Regions from separate parts of the Homo sapiens genome. Here regions 2, 3 and 4 are each linked to region 1. The links are contacts of gene promoters, found by promoter capture Hi-C in human tissues and cell types (Jung and others, 2019). All regions are on one chromosome and are shown on one strand. Each heading gives the region's core, a stretch centred on a gene start or on the middle of the fragment in contact. The rest is flanking DNA. Distances are from core to core; before and after follow the strand shown.

What was found. Contacts are between HindIII fragments. The study calls those that stand out against the background at their distance.
Region 2: a contact is called between a fragment that was not itself captured here and the fragment with the promoter of CHRM1 in region 1, in 5 of the 25 tissues and cell types used here (H1 embryonic stem cells, dorsolateral prefrontal cortex, mesenchymal stem cells and 2 more).
Region 3: a fragment that was not itself captured here is called in contact with the fragment with the promoter of CHRM1 in region 1 in 2 of the 25 tissues and cell types used here (dorsolateral prefrontal cortex and thymus).
Region 4: a fragment that was not itself captured here is called in contact with the fragment with the promoter of CHRM1 in region 1 in 2 of the 25 tissues and cell types used here (mesendoderm cells and spleen).

What each region holds. Positions count from the first base shown.
Region 1 is chr11:62,919,638-62,923,187 of GRCh38, reverse strand. It overlaps CHRM1 (cholinergic receptor muscarinic 1), which reads left to right and starts at 1,825. Exons shown (of 2, transcript NM_000738.3): 1 at 1,825-1,970. LOC105369333 (a long non-coding RNA gene) reads right to left here and starts at 3,028. Exons shown (of 5, transcript XR_002957251.2): 1 at 2,747-3,028. RefSeq lists an enhancer at 967-1,501. The HindIII fragment of the contact is 6,896 bases long and covers 1-3,550 here.
Region 2 is chr11:63,427,092-63,430,641 of GRCh38, reverse strand. No RefSeq gene overlaps it. Among named protein-coding and RNA genes, the nearest start is that of SLC22A9, 59 kb to the right of the region's middle. The HindIII fragment of the contact is 3,761 bases long and covers 59-3,550 here.
Region 3 is chr11:63,260,568-63,264,117 of GRCh38, reverse strand. No RefSeq gene overlaps it. Among named protein-coding and RNA genes, the nearest start is that of SLC22A25, 19 kb to the right of the region's middle. The HindIII fragment of the contact is 6,692 bases long and covers 1-3,550 here.
Region 4 is chr11:63,205,290-63,208,839 of GRCh38, reverse strand. The region is part of intron 7 of SLC22A25 (solute carrier family 22 member 25); the gene reads left to right. Among named protein-coding and RNA genes, the nearest start is that of SLC22A25, 37 kb to the left of the region's middle. The HindIII fragment of the contact is 3,713 bases long and covers 128-3,550 here.

The DNA.
Region 1 (3,550 bases), core at 576-3,075:
CGCCCAAGGGTAGGGACTGGTCAAGTTCTGACCCAACCCTGACCGGCTGGGTGACCCTGGGATGGAAAGGGGATGCTCACTTAGATTTCTCTCCAAGCTGCAGCGTCTGCTTGACTTCAGCAGGGAGGAGGACTGGGTGCCTGCTGGAACCCCAGCTGGCTTTGAGAAGCACAGATGCCCCCACATGTACCTGCCACGTGTGCCCACCAGTAGCTGCTGACCAAACCCCAGGAACTCCAGTTTCAGCTCCACTTGGCTCCATTGGCCAACTGGGCTCCTGGGTGAGAAAGCCCCAGGTTACCCTCAGGCACCAGCATTGGCGGGGTTGTGGGGGCGGGGGGCGGCGCTTGGTGGGGAAATGAGTAGGGGAAACCCCTGCCCCAGACTCCAGAGCCCTGGGCTTAGAGCCAAGTGACCTGAGCCCAAACACCTGCCCACCACATGCTAATCATACCTCTGCTCTTCAGATTTCTCACCTACAAAATGGGGATAATTGATGCTCCCATTCCTTCCCACCTCTCACCCCAAGACTTCGACACAGCCCAGTGGGCAAAGAACACAGCAGCCCCAGAAGGCAGTCCCTGCAGCCTCCAACTCTCCTCCCCAGTCAGCTCCCGGGGAGGTCTCTAGGGCCAAACAGAGGCGGTGCAGGACCCACATCTCTAGGGCAAACGGCCCCCCAGGGGTTCTATCTCTGAGGAAGCTCAACACAGAAGTCCAGACCAGCCTGGCAGGGAGGGATGCTGGCCTCACCCAGTAGGGCTGAGGGAGATTGGGAGGAGGGCTCATCTCCTCCCAGGTACACACCTGTGAGCCCTGAGTGGGAGTCAGGGGAGACAGAGCTTGACAAGCTGGGAGGAGAGCTGTCTGTCTGCCTGTCTGTCTTCCAAGTGGAAGCTTGGGGTGGAGCAGGCAGGTAGAGGCTGCCTCACTTGTCAGAATTAGCAAGTTCCACAGTTGGGCAACACTCAGCCACACATCAGATACAGACACACGTGTGCACACGCGTCCTGCCTCCAGACTGATAGGGTCACACCTGCACTTACACAGGCTGCATGGTGACATGAGTACACAGGGACACACATATGCAAGGCACTCAGCCGCACATGGGGCAGGCACCTGGCCCTCTACTCATCCCCGAAAAGCAGACACCCATATACCCTCACAACAGGCTATGCATAGCCCAATGCTAGCGCACACAGCCCAGCATGCGGGCACGTTCACTCAGCCCCCGGGCGGGTGCGCCAGCCCTCTGGGTCTGTTCCAAGTTGGAGCCTCTCACGTGAGGCCCAATGTGTCATTTCCAAACAGAAGGAATCTAGCTCTCTCACAGCAGGGAGGAAGAGCAGGGTGTGTAGTTGGGTGGGTGGGTGCGTGGGCATGTGCAGGGGGGAGGGCGTGTGTGCGAGGGAAGCAGGCATGTGAATACCAGGGCATGTGTGTTGGGGCATGGTGCACAGGGGCTGGGGGCTCTAAGGTTGGGTGGGGGGAGGAGCCCAAGGAAACAGTGTGCCTTTGTGAGGGTGTGTGTGCCGCCGGGTCTGTGCAGTGGGTGTGGGTGTTTGTCTCCCTGTATCCGCCTTCTCTCCCGTCCGGGACTTTTAGCCTTCCTGGGCTCGCCTTCCTCATGTCCTTTCTCCTCCCTCTTGGGGCTCAAATTGGGTGCCCTGGTGAAGGAGGGGGGCACACTCCAGAACCTAGTCCAACCCCAGACGCTGCCTGAGGCTTCCCTCCAGCTCCCCTCCCTTCCTTTTCTCCCTTTCCTCCCTCCCTCTCTTTCCCTTTCTCCCTCCCCGCTAAGGCTGGCGTGCCAGGGGGTGGGACATGCCAATCACTGGCTGTGCCTCTCCCGCTGCCAGCACAGGGCGCAGCTCCCCCTGGGAGCCAGGTGTTTGGGTCCCTGGAGACGCCGCAGGCCCCCAGGGAGGCAGTGGGGCTGAGGACCCTACAGACCCCTCTTCAGCCCCGTGGTGAGTACATTTGGGAGGGCTTGGGAGGGGCTGCACTAAGGTAGAGGGTAGGAGGGTCCTGGGGAGCGGGGGAGGGCAGGGATCAGGATGAGATGGAAATAGGGATGGACTCACAGAGATAGGAGGAGGCCAGGGAGGGGTCTAGAGGGCAAGGGGGCTCTGTAGCATTGAACACTGACTGCTCCAAACACTCGGCCTCCTGGCTTTGAGTGGATATAGCTGATGTTTTTCTGGGCTTCTGCTGGCAGAGGAGATGGAGATCCCCCTCAGGAAACTGGACCTGAGGCCCAGAAGGGATTAGGCTGCCTGGTAGCAAGCAGAACCCCCAACACCCTAGGGGCAGAGTGGGAAGGGCAAAGGGCCAGGAAGCAGCCCTTGCCACCAGCATCCTGTGGGAGGTTGACCCCCATCTTGATGGGGGTGCCAGTCCCAGAACCTCCTGTCCTCCCTCAGGGCACCCTGAAACCCACCACCCCCGTCCACCTCAGCTCCCCCAAGATGGACTGAATCAGGCTGCTGGCCAGATAGAGAAGCTAGAAGCCAAGGTGGGTGTCAGGCCAGAAGCCAGCAGGAGACCAGGCAAAGAGCCCCAGGGCTCTTTGGGGACAAATGGGCATGTGGGTGGCCACACTAGCCAGGGAAGGTGGCCCTGACGTGCGCAGGGGCCCAGAGGACCCTCCTTATGTTTCTAGTATCTTGGGCTCCCGCAGGGTGGGTCTCAGTCCTATATCCAGGCAATGCATGGATACCAATGGGCACCCACGCCAGGTACTCACCCCAGTGCCCGCAGACTGCACAACATGGGGATGGGCTAGGGGCCAGGAACTCTGATGCTTGTAGAGTTGTCAGCTCCTGGGCAGGCCAGCTGGGGAGGGGGTCGTCAGCTCTCATTAGGTCATCCAGACATGTGCAGCTTAGAGGTTATCAGAGCCAATGGAGAGGGGTTCACATCTTTGCACAAAACACACCTGCAGCTCCACCCAGACTGACCCAAGACCCCTGCCCAACTGGCTGGAAGGAGTCAGGCAGTCTCCAGTAGCCAGACAGTCTCCTTTCTCAGGGTAATCAGCTGTTCAGTGGGCTGTCAGATGAGAGTTCTCTGCCCTCTGACCTCAGCCACCAGGCAAGCTGCAGTCGCTATCGCGGCTGAGATATGAAAGGGAAGGAGATAGTGAAATGGGCTGCAGAAGATGTGGGTCTTGGCTCGCAGCTGACAGCTGGCGGTTGGAGTTCTGAGAACTGGATTCTGAAGTGTAATGGGGAGTCCAAAGTGTCAAGAAGGGGCTAACCAGAGGTCATGTCAGACCTAGAAAGGAGGCTTTCTATTGTATGGAGGGACTGAGGCTGAGAAAGGGAAAGGGACATGCTCATGGTCGGAGAAGGGATATGTAGGGATCCAGCTGGGGCTCGGACCCCTTCTCCGCATCCTCAGCACAACACTGCGCTGCCGCCTCCATGAGCAGGAAGATGGGGTGGGAGAGCAGGGGGCGCAGTAAGCTCTGAGACGCAGAAGCTTGGGCTCCCAGCAGGCGGGGAGAGGTGGGTGAATTGCGCTGGGTTTCTGCTCTGCTGTGGTGCCA
Region 2 (3,550 bases), core at 690-3,189, 510 kb before region 1:
TTCCCAGGGGAGGTGATGCCTCACCCTGCCTTGGCTCTTGCTTGGTGGGCTGCACCCACTGTCCTGCACCCACTGTCTGACACACCCCAGTGAGATGAACCTGGTACCTCAGTTGGAAATACAGAAATCACCTGTCTTCTGCGTCACTCATGCTGGGAGCTGTAGACTGGAGCTGTTCCTATTCGGCCATCTTGGAACCACTATGTGGTCGATTTTAGAATAAGTGCTATGTGGTGCTGAGAAGAATGTATATTCTGTTTATTTGAGGTGGAGAGTTCTGTAGATGTTTATTAGGCCCACCTGGTTCAGAGCTGAGTTCAAGTGCTGAATATCCTTGTTAATTTTCTGTCTCATTGGTCTGTCTAATATTGACAGTGGGGTATTAAAGTCTCCCACTATTATTGTGTGGGAGTCTAAGTCTCTTTGTAGGTCTCTAAGAACTTGCTTTATGAATCTGCGTGCTCCTGTATTATAAAGTCTGTTTTATCAGAGACTAGGATTGTAAACTCTGTTTTTTTTTCTTTCCATTTGCTTGGTAAATATTTCTCCATCCCTTTATTTTGAGCATAAGTGTGTCTTTGCACTTGAGATGGGTCTCCTGAATACAGCACACTGATGAGTCTTGACTCTTCATCCAGTTTGCCCATCTGTGCCTATTAATTGGGGCATTTAGCCCACTTACCTTTAATGCTAATATTGTTATGTGTGAATTTGATCCTGTCATTATGGTGCTAGCAGGTTATTTTCCCCATTAGTTGATGCGGTTTCTTCATAGTGTCGATGGTCTTTACATTTTGGTTTGTTTTTGCAGTGGCTGGTACCACTTTTTCCTTTCCATATTTAGTGCTTCCTTCAGGAGCTCTTTAAGGCACACCTGATGGTGACAAAATCCCTCAGCACTTGCTTGTTTGTAAAGGATTTTATTTCTCCTTCACTTATGAAGCTTAGTTGGCTGGATATGAAATTCTGGGTTAAAAATTTTTTCTTTAATAATGTTGAATATTAGCCCCCACTCTCTTCTGGCTTGTAGGGTTTCTGCTGAGAGATCTGCTGTTAGTCTGATGGGCTTCCCTTTGTGGGTAACCTGACTTTTCTCTCTGGCTGCCCTTAACATTTTTTCCTTCATTTCAACCTTGGTGAATATGATGATTATGTTTCTTGGGGTTGCTCTTCTCCAGGAGTATCTTTGTGGTGTTCTCTCTATTTCCTGAAGTTGAATGTTGGCCTGCCTTGCTACGTTGGGGAAGTTCTCCTGGATAATGTCCTGAAGAGTGTTTTCTAACTTGGTTCCATTCTCCCATCACTTTCAGGTACACCAATCAAACATAGATTTGGTCTTCATATAGTCTCATGTTTATTGGAGGCTTTATTTGTTTCTTTTCACCCTTGTTTCTCTAGTCTTGTCTTCTCACTTTATTTCATTAATTTGATCTTCAATCACTGATATCCTTACTTCCACTTGATCTAATCGGCTATTGAAGCTTGTGTATGCTTCATGAAGGTCTCATACTGTGGTTCTCAGCTCCATCAGGCCATTTAAGCTCTTCTCCTTACTGGTATTCTAGTTAGCCATTCGTCTAACCTTTTTTCAAAGTTTAGTTTCCTTGCAATGGGTTAGAACATGCTCCTTTAGCTCAGAGAAGTTTGTTATTACCGACCTTCTGATGACTACTTTTGTCAATTTGTCAAACTCATTCTCCATCCAGTTTTATTCCCTTGCTGTTGAGGAGTTGTGTTCCTTTGGAGGAGAAGAGGTATTTTGGTTTTGGAATTTTCAGCCTTTCTGCTCTGGTTTCTCCCCATTTTTGTGGTTTTTGTCTACGTTTGGTCTTTGATGTTGGTGACCTATGGATGGGGTTTTGTTGTGGATGTCCTTTTTGTTGATGTTGATGCTATTCCTTTCTGTTTGTTAGTTTTCCTTCTAACAGTCAGGCCCCTCATCTGCAGGTCTGTTGGAGTTTGCTGGAGGTCCACTCCAGACCCTGGAGTATTACCAGGTTTGCCTGGGTATTTCCAGTGGAGGTTGCAGAACAGCAAATATTGCTGCCTGATCCTTTCTCTGGAAGCTTTGTCCCAGAGGGACACCTGCCTGTATGAGGTGTCTGTCGGCCCCTACTGTGAGGTGTCTCCCCATCAGGAATCATGGGGTCATGGACCCACTTGAGGAGGCAGTCTGTCCATTATCAGAGCTTGAACTCTGTGCTGTGAGAACCACTGCTCTTTTCAGAGCTGTTAGGCAGGGAGGTTTAAGTCTGCAGAAGCTGTCTCCTGCCTTTTGTTCAGATATGCCCTGCCCCTAGAGGTGGAATCTAGAGAGGCAGTAGGCCTTGCTGAGCTGTGGTGGGCTCCGCCCAGTTTGAAGTTCCCTGTTGCTTTGTTTAGACTGTGGGCATAGAACTGCCTACTCAAGCCTCAGTAGTAGTGGATGCCCCTCCCCCTGCCAAGCTCCAACATCCCAGGTTGATCTCAGACTGCTGCATTAGCAGCGAGCAAGGCTCCATGGGTGTGGGACCTGTCTAGTCAGGCTTGGGAGGGAATCTCCTGGTCTGCTGGTTGTGATGACCCTGGGAAAAGTGCAGTATTTGGGCAGGAGTGTACCATTCCTCCAGGTACAGTCACTCCCAGCTTTCCTTGGCTAGGAAAGGGAAATCCCCCAACCCCTTGCACTTCCTGGGTGAGGTGATGCCCTGCCCTGCTTTGGCTCACCCTCCATGGGCTGCACCCACTGTCCAACCAGTCCCAATGAGATGAACCAGGTACCTCAGTTGGAAATGCAGAAATCACCCATCTTCTGCATCGATCTCACTGGGAGCTGTAGACTGGAGCTGTTCCTATTAGGCCATCTTGGAAGTGACCTATCTCAAACTTTTAACCGTTTCTTTCCAGAAGAAAAATTTGAAACATTAAGGGAAAACAGTTGGGTAAAATATCCATTTGCTTTTCAAAACCCTGAATCAATAATTGAGCTAAACTTGGTGCCTGAAGAAGAGAATGAATTATTGCAGTTTAGTTCTTCATATACATTAAAGAATGATTATGAGACCTTAAGCTTATCAGCATTTTGGAATAAGGTAAAGGAAGACTTTCCATTGTTAAATAGAAAGAGTGTCCTGCTATTACTACCATTCACAACAACTAGTTTGTGTGAACTAGGGTTTTCTATCTTAACCCAGTTAAAAACAAAGGAAAGAAATGGCTGAATGGTGTAGCAGCTATGCAGGTAGCATTATCTTCCTATGTTCCAGACTGGAATGAACTTAGGAACAGGCAAGCACACCCATCATAATAAATAAAATCTTACCTAAAAAAAGATGTACAAATGGCTAATAGGTATATGAAAATCTGCTCAACATCACCTATTACAAGGGAAGTGCAAATCACTTGAATGGGAGAAAATATTTGCAAAGTGCTCATCCAAAGGGGACTAATATGTATTCTATACAAGAATAACAATTCAACTATAGAAAACCAAACAATCCCACTAAAAATGAACAATATTTTTCAAAAGAAGACTTACAAAAGACCAATAGTATATGAAAAATGCTCAACA
Region 3 (3,550 bases), core at 384-2,883, 340 kb before region 1:
ATTGGAAGACATTGCACCTCTAACCTGGATGCTGATCCTGTGGAATAGCTTTAATAGGTAATTTTTGCAAAGTAAGAACCCAGGATGACTTGGCTTAAGGATGAGATATTTAGGGCTTTCTGTGTCCTGGCAGAGCTCCTTCTGGAGGAGGCAGTCAACCATGGCTGTCACTGAAGCATGTCACCCACAAGGACACTGAGAGGAGTTTAGATGCTCAATGCCATCTAATAGTCTCAGTTAAAACTTGTGACCTTTGAGTCTATCTCACTTACATATTACCTGTATATATTTCTGGGTTAGAGAGTTCATTTTCCCCTTGTGTTCAGACTTAGGCCTCTGTGCCATTAATTCAAATAGCAGAATTAATGAATTAATTAAACATTCGAATTTAAAAAGTGAATAAATAAGGTTTCTCAGGTCATAGGTCCAAGTTAATATCCATTAACAGTAAAAAGATGGGCAGAGGGGGCCAAGATGGCCTATTAGAAGCAGCTGCAGTTGGTGGCGCCCACCAAGAAGAGCAAAAATGGTGAGTGGATCCTGTGCCTTCAACTGAGGTATCCAGGTTCTCTCATTGGGACTGACTAGGCGGTTGGCATGATCCACTGAGAGTAAGAAAAAGCAAGATGGAACGAGGGCCCACCCAGGAGTTGCATGGAGTAAGGGGAGCCCCCACTCCCAGCCAAGGGAGGGAGTGAGTGATTGTGGTACCCTGCCTGAGAAACCACGCTCTTTCCACGGATCTGTGCAACCCATGGATCAAGAGATCCCTCGTGAGCCCACACCACCAGGGCCTTGGGACCCAAGCACAGAGCTGTGCAAGCTCTTGGTGGCTGCCCAGGTTGCAGCCAGTGGCAGCAGGACAGAGACTGCCTAAGAAGACAACCATCACTGTGGCTCCAGTCTGCTGTTCTCCCCTGCTGGTGCCAGGAAGACTGGGCAGTTTGGACCAGCAGGAATTCTCCGCAGCATGGAACAGCAGCTGTGGCAGATTGTGGCCAGACCCTCTGGTCCCAAATGATTCCATCCCTCTGATGTACTACATTATCATGTGTGAAATGTCCAGAAAAGTATTATTTCATTATAGCACACACTCAAAGTCCAGAATCTTACCATTTAAATGAGGTTCAAGTGTAAGTGAGACTACTTACATGGAGTTCTCTGGCTTTTATCTTTGTATTTGTTAATCTGTGAAACTGAAGAGACAAGACACTTGTCTCCAAAACACTCAACACACAATAATAATACAAGCATCCAATTACTACTGTAGACATTCCCGTTCAAAATGGAGGAGACGTGAGACACAAGGAGTTCAGAGCAATTATGAAGTGCACTTAGGCAAATATTAGAAGTTCCTTGAATAGGTCTGGAGGCATGAAAAATGAAAGCAATTTGGCTCTCAGCCACAGCCTCGTGCCACTTGGATCCAACATTTTTTTTAAAAGACAGAACATACCTCTAAGTGAATAGTATTCTCAGCTACCTTCCCACCCAGAGCATTTTGAGGACTACACAGCCTTTTTATTTTTGTACTGTCTTTGCCCCTTGCAGTCAAATTGGCAGCATTTTTCTGATAAAGATTTCTTTAAAAAGTTGTGGATGTTCTGTGAATCTCTTTGTGGTTTATCTTATTAGAGAAAATCTACCCCAACAAATATCTTTGAGATAAACTTTTCACCTTGGGCTTCTGCTGAGATGGTGAAGAAACAGTGCACCTAAGTATCCTAGAGCCTCTGTTGTTTGATTGAGGGGCATGTCCTTAATCTTTTTAAAGGCCCTTTGTTTCTCAGTAATACACAGAATCTTTGACCTTTCTGGGACCTTAAGAAATGTTGTACCGGGCAGACCTGGCAAGACGGCCAAATAGGAACAGCTCCGGTCTGCAGCTCCCGGTGAGATCAACATAGAAGGCAGGTGATTTCTGCTTTTCCAACTGAGGTACCCGGCTCGTCTCATTGGGACTGGTTAGACAGTGGGTGTAGCCCATGGAGGGTGAGCCGAAGCAGGGTGGGGCATTGCCTCACCCCAGAAGTGCAAGGGGTCAAGGAACTCCCTCCTCTAGCCAAGGGAGGCCTTGAGGGACTGTGCCATGAGGAACAGTCCCAGCCCAGATACTATGCTTTTCCCATGGTCTTCCCAACCCACAGACCAGGACATTCCCCAGGGTGCCTACACCACCAGAGCCCTGAGTTTCAAGCACAAAACTGGGTGGCCGTTTGGGCAGACACCAAGCTAGCTGCAGGAATTTCTTTTCATATCCCAGTGGTGCCTGGAATGCCAGCAAGACAGCCATTCACTCCCCTGGAAAGGGGGCTGAAGCCAGGGAGCCAAGTGGTCTAGCTCAATGGATCCCACCCCCATAGAGCCCAGCAAGCTAAGATCCACTGGCTTGAAATTCTCCCTGCCAGCACAGCAGTCTGAAGTCGACCTGGGAACTAAGCTTGAGCTTAGTGCGGGGAGGGGCATCTGCCATTACTGAGGCTTGAGTAGTTGGTTTTCCCCTTACAGTGTAAAAAAGCCACAGCGAAGTTCCAACTGGGCAGAGACCTCCACAGCTCAGCAAAGCCACTATAGCCATACTGCCTCTCTAGATTCCTCCTCTCCAGGCAGGGCATCTCTGAAAAAAAGGCAGCAGCCCCAGTCAGGGGCTTATAGATAAAATTCCCATCTCCCTGGGACAGAGCACCTGGGGGAAGGAGTGGCTGTTGGCGCAGCTTCAGCAGACTTAAACGCCACTGCCTGCAGGCTCTGAAGAGAGCAGCAGATCTCCCAGCACAGTGCACTAGCTCTGCTAAGGGTCAGACTGCCTCCTCAAGTGGGTCCCTGACACCCATGTCTCCTGACTGGGAGACACCTCCCAGCAGGGGCTACAGACACCTCATACAGGAGAGCTCCGCCTGGCATCTGGTATGTGCCCCTCTGGGATGAAGCTTCCAGAGGAAGGAACAGGCAGCAATCTTTGCTGTTCTGCAGCCTCCACTGGTGATACCAGTCAAACAGTGTCTGGAGTGGACCTCCAGCAAACTCCAGCAGACCTGCAGCAGAGGGGCCTGACTGTTAGAAGGAGAACTAACAAACAGAAAAAAATAGCATCAACATCAACAAAAAGGATGTCCATTCAGAAACCAATGCCAAAGATCAAAGGTAGATATACCTATGAAGATGGGGAGAAACCAGCACGAAAAGGCTGAAAATTCCAAAAACCAGAATGCCTCTTCTTCCCCAAAGGATCACAACTCCTCACCAGCAAGGAAACAAAACTGGGTGGAGAATGAGTTTGACAAATTGACAGAAGTAGACTTCAGAATGTGGGTAATAATAAACTCCTCCAAGCTAAAGGAGCATGTTCTAACCCAATGCAAGGAAGCTAAGAACCTTGAAAAAGATTACTGGAACTGCTAACTAGAATAACCAGTTTAGAGAAGAATATAAGTGAGCTGATGGAGTGAAAAACACAGCACGAGAACTTCGTGAAGCATACACAAGTATCAATAGCCAAATCAATCAAACAGAAGAAGGGATATCAGAGATTGAAGATCAACTTAATGAA
Region 4 (3,550 bases), core at 735-3,234, 290 kb before region 1:
CACAGCCTGCTACAGCCATGAAGCTGGCCATGAAGCTGGTCCTATCAGCCATATGCAGCATCCTAGTTCTAATTTCCCCCACACTCACCTCCAAGCACACAGCCCCTGCTAAGGGATCTATGCCTCCTGTCACTCCCCACATTGGCCTCTCCCAACACTGTCTCTTTCACACACTTTCACACATCTCCCCTGCCCCAGGACTCCTCATCAGATGAAACAAGCCTCTCTCATGTCCCAGGTGAGCCTAGTTAGGCTCCCACATTCTCACACATACACACACCACTCCTACCCCAGGACTTCCTATCAGATGAAATGAGCCTCTCTCGTGTCCCGGGTAGGTTTACATGCACGCACACACTCCCAGTTCCTGTCTCCAGATCCAATGAACCACTTTCACTTTGTTAGTGGGGACATGAGGTTCATCCAAATTGGCAAGCGACTCCTGCCACCCCCAGCCATTCTGGGTTGGATTAGTGGTTGTTCCCTGGGAGGTGATGAAGCTCCCCTTTGTCCTTATGGGATGGGCTTCCCTGCCTTGGGCCCTTGCTCCTTACCATGGTTCCTGAAGTGCTGGTATCATACTGCAGCCCCACCCCTGGCTCCATTGCACTGCCAGGCAGGCTGCCAGGATGGGGGAAGAGCCAGTCTCCATCCAGGTGAAGCTCCCTCATGGTATGCCTTGGATGCCAGGTCTCCCATGGCCACAGGGCTGTAGTCCCACAGGCAAAGGAGACAGTAAATCTGTCATCTCCAATCCTGGATGAGTCCCCAGAAATGTTGCAGGATTGTTAAGGAATCAGAGAGACCAATGGGGTTCAGGAGGATAGTTATTATTTAGGTGTGCTGGCCCAGTCAGATTAGCATCCAAAGGACTGAGCCCTGAACAAAGACTTAAGTTACCTTTTAAGCATTTCGTGGGGTAGGGGGAGATCTGTGCAGGGGGAAGCATATTACAGAAGTGAGAAACAAAGACAGTTATTCAATTAATTAAGACATGCATTACATCATTTCTTACATTTCAAAAACAAACATGTTTTACGACTTGAGTTTATCTGTCTAGTGACCTTGCAGCTACACATCTAGAGAAACAGGGTCTTCACAATGCCTAGGAAAGAAGGAGAGATAAGGCTCACTAGCCACAGAAAAATAGGCAGTTAATTTTTAAAGGACTCCAGCTCTTTCTTTTTCTCAGGGGGAATTGGGTTTTCTTACATACAGCTGAGTTTCTGCTTACACATTCTTTCATTTCTCTTAATTCCTGTTCCAAGATGGTATCACATTGTGGTTTTGATTTGCATTTCTCTAATGACCAGTGATGATGAGCTTTTTTTCATATGTTTGTTGGCTGCATAAATGTCTTATTTTGAGAAGTGTCTGGTCATATCCTTTACCCACTTTTTGATGGAGTATTTTTTTCTTGTAAATTTATTTAAGTTCCTTGTAGATTCTGGATATTAGCCCTTTGCCAGATGAATAGATTGCAAAAATTTTCTCCCCTTCTGAAGGTTGCCTGTTCACTCTGATGATAGTTACCAATGCTGTGCAGAAGCTCTTTAGCTTAATTAGATCCCATTTATCAATTTTGGCTTTTGTTGCCATTGCTTTTTGTGTTTTAGTCATAAAATCTTTGTCCATGCCTATGTCCTGAATGGTAATGCCTAGGTTTTCTTCTAGGGTTTTTATGCCTTTAGGTCTTACATTTAAGTCTTTAATTCATCCTGAGTTAATTTTTGTATAAGGTGGACCCCTCAGTTTTCTGTATATGGCTAGCCAGTTTTCCCAGCACCATTTATTAAATAGGGAATCCCTTCCCCATTGCTTGTTTTTGTCAGGTTTATCAAAGATCAGATGGTTGTGGATGTGTGAAATTATTTCTGAGGGCTCTGTTCTGTTCAAGTGGTCTATGTATCTGTTTTGGTACCACTGCCATGCTGTTTTGGTTACTGTAGCCTTGTAATGTAGTTTGAAGTCAGGTAACATGATGCCTCCAGCTTTGTTCTTTTTGCTTAACATTGCCTTGGCTACGTAGGCTCTTTTGTAGTTCCATATGAAATTTCAAGTACTTTTTTCTAATTCTGTGAAAAAGTCATTTGTAGCTTGTTGGGGATAGCATTGAATCTTTAAATTACTTTGGGCAGTATGGCCATTTTTATGATATTGATTCTATCCATGAGCACAGAATATTTTTCCATTGTTTGTATTTTCTCTTATTTCCTTGAGCAGTGGTTTGCAATTCTCCTTGAAGACATCCTTCACATCCCTTGTGAGTTCTATTCCTAGGTATTTTATTCTCTTTGTAGCAACTGTGAATGAGAGTTCACTCATGATTTGGCTCTCTGTTTTTCTATTATTTGTGTATAGGAATGCTTGTGATTTTTGCACATTGATTTTGTATCCTGAGACTTTGCTGAAGTTGCTTATCAGCTTAAGAAGATTTTGGACTGAGACAATGGGGTTTTCTAAATAAACAATCATACTGTCTGGAAACAGAGAGATTTTGACTTCCTCTCTTCCTGTTTGAATACCCTTTATTTCTTTCTCTTGCCTGATTGGCCTGGCCAGAACTTCCAATACTATGTTGAATAGGAGTAGTGAGAGACACCACCCTCATCTTGTGCTGGTTTTCAAAGGGAATGCTTCCAGCTTTTGCCCATTTAGTATGATATTGGCTATAGGTTCATAATAAATAGCTGCTATTATTTTGAGATACGTTCCATCAATAACTAGTTTATTGAGAGTTTTTAGCATGAAGTGGTGTTCAATTTTATTGAAGGCCTTTTCTGCATCTATTGAGATAATCATGTGGTTTTTGTCATTTGTTCTGTTTATGTGATGGATTTGCTTACGTGGAACCAGCCTTGCATCCCAGGGATGAAGCTGACTTGATGGTGGTGGATAAGCTTTTTGATGTGCTGCTGGATTCAGTTTGCCCATATTTTATTGAGGATTTTTGCACTAATGTTCATCAGGAATATTGGCCTGAATTTTTTTGTTGTGTTTCCAACGGGTTTTGGTATCAGGATGATGCTGGCCTCATAAAATGAGTTTGGGAAGAGTCCCTTTTATTCTGTTGTTTGGAATAGTTTCAGAAGGAAGGGTACCAACTTCTCTTTGTACCTCTGGTAGAATTCGGCTGTAAATCTTTCTGGTCCTGGCCTTTGGTTGGTTGGTAGGCTATTAATTACTGCCTCAATTTCAGAACTTGTTATTGGTCTATTCAAGGATTCAACTTCTTCCTGGTTTAGTCTTGGGAGAATGTATATGTCCAGGAATTTATCCATTTCATCTAGATTTTCTACTTCATTTGCATAGGGTTGTTTATAATATTCTGTGATGGCAGTTTGTATTTCTATGGGATCAGCAGTGATATCCCCTTTATCATTTTTTATTGTGCCAATTTGATTCTTCTCTCTTTTCTTCTGTATTAGTCCTGCTAGCGGTCTATTTTGTTATTTTTTTCAAAAAACAGCTGCTGGATTCATTGATTTTTTGAAGGGTTTTCATGGTTCTATCTCTCATTTCTGCTCTGATCTTAGTTATTTCTTGTCTT